Linked DNA regions of Homo sapiens: region 1 is linked to region 2. Evidence: promoter capture Hi-C in 16 types of primary human blood cells and fetal thymus (Javierre and others, 2016). All regions are on one chromosome and are shown on one strand. The core of a region is centred on a gene start or on the middle of the fragment in contact, and the rest is flanking DNA. Distances in the headings are between cores, read along the strand shown. Region 1 holds the start of INTS1 (integrator complex subunit 1). Region 2 holds the start of BRAT1 (BRCA1 associated ATM activator 1).

Evidence for each region. Contacts are between HindIII fragments. The CHiCAGO score rates a contact against its expected background, and 5 or more counts as called.
Region 1: a contact is called between the fragment with the promoter of INTS1 here and the fragment with the promoter of BRAT1 in region 2, in 1 of 17 cell types (neutrophils). The highest score is 5.5, in neutrophils.

The regions. Positions count from the first base shown.
Region 1 is chr7:1,503,102-1,505,801 of GRCh38, forward strand. It overlaps INTS1 (integrator complex subunit 1), which reads right to left and starts at 1,288. Exons shown (of 48, transcript NM_001080453.3): 1 at 1,222-1,288; 2 at 802-900; 3 at 1-90. The coding sequence starts at 859. RefSeq lists a silencer at 934-1,493 and enhancers at 2,380-2,700, 2,602-2,700. The HindIII fragment of the contact is 9,546 bases long and covers 1-2,700 here.
Region 2 is chr7:2,554,238-2,556,937 of GRCh38, forward strand. BRAT1 (BRCA1 associated ATM activator 1) reads right to left here and starts at 1,287. Exons shown (of 14, transcript NM_152743.4): 1 at 1,250-1,287; 2 at 68-210. The coding sequence starts at 194. RefSeq lists a silencer at 1,042-1,281 and an enhancer at 1,194-1,871. The HindIII fragment of the contact is 11,664 bases long and covers 385-2,700 here.

The DNA of each region.
Region 1 (2,700 bases), core at 38-2,537, 1.1 Mb before region 2:
GGGCTGGCTTCAGCAGGGTGGACGCCGTTTTCGATTCATTGGCCTGACCCTTTGAGCCCAGAGCAATGAAGTCTCCTGGGGGAGGGTGCCCTGCAGAGAAAGGAGAGAGAAAACCGGGCACATTTGCAACACCCAAGATGGAAAAAGACTGACTCTAACCTCCTGTTATGTCAGAGGGGATTAAACAAGGGTCAGAGGAGGCAAGGAAGAAGCCAGAGCTCACTCAGCAGCCTACAGCAGAGCTGGGACCAGCAGGATACGCACAGGTGATGGTGGACAGTCACGTAGCGCTAACCACAAACCAGGCCATCTCTGGTCTATCCAAATTAGTGTGCTTAGTAACCCCCGCCCCGAGTTTCCGCAATAGGTGCTATTACTCTAACTTTACAAGAGAGAAAGGGACACAGAGAGGTTAAGCGACGTGCCCAGCGTCACACAGCAGGCGAGTGGCAAAGTCCGGAGGATCTGAGCCGACAGTTCAGCCGCAGACCCCGTGCTACGCTACACTGTGCTGCCTCCCGCCTCCTGGCTGGGGAGACCTTCCGCTACTGTCGGCCGCCTTGCAGCTCAGCCTGAAACGAGATCACCGGGGTCCCGAAGGAAGTCGCCACTGTCCCAAGCCTCCCAGGGACTCTCAGAGCCGCTGAGGACCGAGAGCAGTGTTTCCAGACCGAATTCCTGGAAACAGCCGCGGCTGCGGAACAACCAAGCCCAACGCAGGATCCGCGGCAGCTGAGATCCCCAAAGACCCCCAAAGACCCCCAAAGACCCCCGGGCTGCAGAGCGAGGAGGGAGACGCACCTGAGGGTTTGGCCGCGGCGCTGGGCCGGCGCACCGTGGTGGGCTTGGCCCGGTTCATCCTGCCCCGTCCCTCGCGGCTCCCGGCGGCTGCGGCGTCACCTGCGGAGGAGCCAGCGTGCGGTCATTCCTTCACTCATTCGCTCGTTCGCTCGCTCATTCGCTCCCTTGCCGCACGGGGCTTGGGCCTGGGACCCGGGGACAGTGGTCCCGCGCCCGCCCGGCGGGGCGATGCTGCAGGAGCTGCAGGGACCCCGCCTCCCAGCCGCCCGGGAGCGGCTCAGTCGGGCGGCAGCAGGCGACGCGGACGCCGGGCTGGAGGCGGCAGAACCAGAAGGGACGGCCCAGAGGCCGGGAGCGGTAGCCGGGAGAACCAGGCGCTCGCCCGGCAATGAGGAAGCGCCCAGGCCGCGGCTCACTTACCTCTGGCCCATCGCGACCGGAGCGCCGCCGCCGCCACCCGGCCACCCCGGAATCGGAAACCGATCTCACCGCCCTCGAGGACCCGACTTCCGGAACAACCGGAAGGAAAACAGTGCGGCGGGAAGCGGGCCCAGAAGGAGGCGCGAGAGGCCCGCGGCGCCGGCCTGATGCCTGCAGCGCCCCATGGCGGCGGGAGGCGGGCTGGCCGGCGCCGCGCGCATGTGGTCCGGTCCAGGTGGGTCGGCGGCGCGGGGCAGGCGCTGGCCTCTCCATTCACAGGTGGTGCTGGCGTTGCGAAGGGACGCACTCCAGGACGCACGGCGGGGAGGAGTGGCGTCAGGGATCCGCGGATGAGTCAAGTGGCAGGTTCTGCACGTCCCGGAGAGCGGGGGCGGCCGGGGCGCAGGCACTGGCGAGGGGGCGCAGCCCGGGGGGCTCCCGGGGAGAGACCCTGTCTCAAATAATAATAATAATAATAATAATAGCTTTATTGAGATAGAACTCGTGTTCCACAAAGTTCACCCTTTTCTTTTTTCTTTTTTTTTTTGGCACGGAGTCTCGCTCTGTCGCCCAGGCTGGAATGCAGTGGCGCGACCTCGGCTTATTGCAACCTCCACCTCCCAGGTTCAAGCGATTCTCCTGCCTCAGTCTCCCGAGTAGCTGGGATTACAGGCGCCCGCCACCATGTCTGGCTAATTTTTTTGTGTTTTTAGTAGAGACGGGGTTTCACCATGTTGGCCAGGCTGGTCTCGAACTCCTGACCTCAGGTGGTCCGCCCGCCTTGGCCTCCCAAAGTGCTGGAATTACTGCGCCCGCCCCGCCCCCACGCCTTTTTTTTTTTTTTTTTAATGGAAACACTGATGGGAACAAAACTCAAAAGACACAAAAGATCATACAGTTGCCAGGTGTGATGCTCATGCCTGTAATCTCAGCACTTTGGGAGACCAAGGCAGGAGGATCGGTTGAGTTCGAGACCAGCCTGAGCAACATAGCAAGACCCCCATCTCTACAAAAAAATAAAAATTAGCTGGGCATGGTGGCATGAACCTCTAATCCCAGCCCTTTGGGAGGCCAAAGTGGGAGTCTGAGACCAGCCTGGGCAACATAGTGAGACCCTATCTCTACAAACAAAAATCAAGAATAAATTAGCCAGGCATGGTGGTGCATGCCTACGGTCCCAGCTACTGAGGAGGCTGAGGTAGGAGGATCTCTTCAGCTTGGGAGGTCAAGGCTGCAGTAAGCTATGATGGTGCCACTACGCTGCAGCCGGCCGACAGAGCGAGACCCTGTCTAAAAAAAAATAAAAATAAAAGGTGGGGGAATCATCCAGTCAAAGGGTCGAAGGTCTCCCCTGACCCCTGAGCAGCTGGTCCCCTCCCCTGGAGTCAGCCTGTGTTCTGATTTGTGCCTGTGTTCCCGGCTTTTCCGTGTGCGTTCAGGCAGCCACCCGTGTGCCTCCCTCTGCCTTGTCACCCTGCA
Region 2 (2,700 bases), core at 37-2,536:
TGCTCCCTGTCCCAGCCTCTGCGTCTGGTCTCTGGATAGGCAGTAAACAGCAGCACCACCTCCTTACCTCCTTCAGTGACCGTTTTAAACCAGTCCAGGAGCTTCTCCAAACAGGTGTCATCTGCCACCGGCTGCCTGGGATCTACCAGAACAGCACAGAGAGCCGGGAGCAGCTGGGCGCATTCTGGGTCCATGGTGAGGCCGCAGGCCCTGCAAAGGCAATGTGAGAGCCAAACCTCAATGCCCACTCCAGACCCAGCTCGCTCTAGTCACAGCAGCCCACCATGCCTGCTCAGGCCTGGGAAGGGGCCCCAGAACTTTCATCTCAGACCAGGAGAACCATGATCCCCAGACCAGAGGTCTGTACTGCAGGGATGGATGCAAAGCTTTGGTCTAGGTGGGGCCCTGAGCGCTGGTGGCGGGGCTGAAAGGGGCAGATGAGGGTCTAGCTGAAACCACAAGGCCTCCGGAACTCAAAGTCTGTCACCCTTGGTCTTTGGTGCAGTCGGGGCAACAGCGTGGTGCTGGCCCAGGCTGCAGGTGGGCCAGAGTCAGGGGCATCTTTGAGTTCCGGGGTCAGCCATGTGTGCAAGGGGATGTCTACCCATGCCCCAGGGCCAGCCTGGGCTGGAAAGTTTCTGTCCCTCCCAGCGTCAAGTGGTGGCTGCATTTGACGTCCTGAAGCCAGCAGGGGGGTGCGGAGGGGAAGGGGCGCCTGTCCGTGTGTCTGTCCCTCTCAGGGTCAGTGGTGGCTGCATTTGCTGTTCTGCAGCCAGTAGGAGGGTGAGGAGGGGAAGGGGCACCTGTCCGTGTGTCTGTCCCTCCCAGGATTAGTGGTGGCTGCATCTGAAGCCGGCGGGGGGGAGAGGGGGGCGGCGGGGTGCGGAAAGGAAGGGGCGCCTGTCTCTCCCAGGACCAGGTGTGCATCCGTGCGTCCAGCCTCGGGGGTGGGCGGGGTGGTCAGCGGCTCTGTCTAACCGGGGCACCGTCTGCCAATGCCCGGGAAGGCTGCGTCCCGGGAAGAGGAACCCTCCCCACACTTTGAAGTCAGTTTTGGCCGCGAGCGCCAGGCCCGAGAGTCCAGAAGGGGCGCCAGAGCAGGCGGCCACAGTCGGGCTGGGAAGCGAGCCCAGGTCGCGCACGCCCCGGGCTGGGCTGCTCCCTGGCCCGCCCGCCCCCCTCGGCCGGGTCTTGGCCTCCCCGCGCCCCACTACCACGACCTCGACCCCCGAAGGCCCACGCGCCTCACCGCTCGGTTGCGTCCTCCGCCGCAACCACCCCTCGCCCAAGGCTCCGCCTCCGGACAGTGCCACCTGCCAGGCCCGGAGGAGGCGGAGGACGGAGACGGCTGGCGTGGGGAACTGAGACTGCACCCCTGGAGGCCGCTCTGGAAGCCTCGAGGGCCCAGACTTGAAGGAAGGAGTTCAAGCTGAGAGGGGCTGGGGACAGGCAGGCGCCAAGCCGGTCGCTCCGACAGATCACCCCCGCCAGGCGCCTAGTGGTTCATGCCGAGCATCCGGTGGGTGGGCGGGGCGTCTCGAGGGCGGGGATCTCTGAGGAAGGCGCGGGGTTGTGTCCGGAGGGGCGGGGCTTCGCCTGCAGGGCGCCCAGTGTCTGCACCGGCGGGAGCGAGAAAACTATGTGCCGGAGAGAAGCGTCCTGATCCGTGCACCAAAGCCCTTGGTCATTTAGCTTCAGGTTCTCAAATTAAGTCCTCCGCGGCCGCGCTGTGGCTCATGCCTGTAATTCCAGCCCTTTAGGAGGCGCAGTTGGGAGGATTGCTTGAAGCCAGGAGTTGAGACCAGCCTAGGCAACAAAGCGAGACCCCATCTCTTAAAATTTAAAAAAAAAAAAAAAAAAAAAAAAAAAGGCCAGGCGTGGTGGCTCACGCCTGTAATCCCAGCGCTCTGGGAGGCCCAGGCGGGCGGATCACGAGGTCAGGAGTTCGAGACCAGCCTGGCCAACATGGCGAAATCCCGTCTCGTCTCTAATTTTTGTATCTCTAAGATATCAAAATTAGCCGGACGTGGAGGCGCGCGCCTGTAATCCCAAGTACTCGGGAGACTGAGGCAGGAGAATCTCTTGAACCTGGGAGGCGGAAGTTGCAGTGAGCCAAGATGGTGCCACTGCACTCCAGCCTGGGCTACAGGGCGAGACTCCGTCTCAAAAAAAAAAAAAGAAAATCAGCCAGACCTGGTAGCATGCGCCTGTGGTCCCAGCTACTCCAGAGGCTGAGGCGGGAGGATCGCTTGAGCCCAGAAGTTCAAGGCTGCAGTGAGCTATGATCCTGCCCCGGCACTCCAGCCTGGGCAACAGAGCAAGACCCTGTGTTTTAAGAAAGCAAACAGGCAGAAAAACTAGGTCCAAAAAATTGAGTTCAAAACACTAACTGTGTGTTCGAGAGTCTCAAAGCCAGTGGATAGACAAGGCTCATGTTCCCAAAGCATTGTTTTATAGCAAGATTGTTGGGAGCCAACACCAGATTTAGGAAACAAAGCAGAATTCCTATGGATATTAAAATTTAAAAATTTAAAAGCACTGACTTTGCTGGGTCACCTTTATTTTATTTATTTATTTATGGAGACGGAGTGTCACTCTTTTTGCCCAGACTGGAGTGCAATGGCTCAATCTTGACTCACTGCAACCTCCACCTCCTGGGTTCAAGCGATTCTCCTGCCTCAGCCTCCCGAGTAGCTGGGA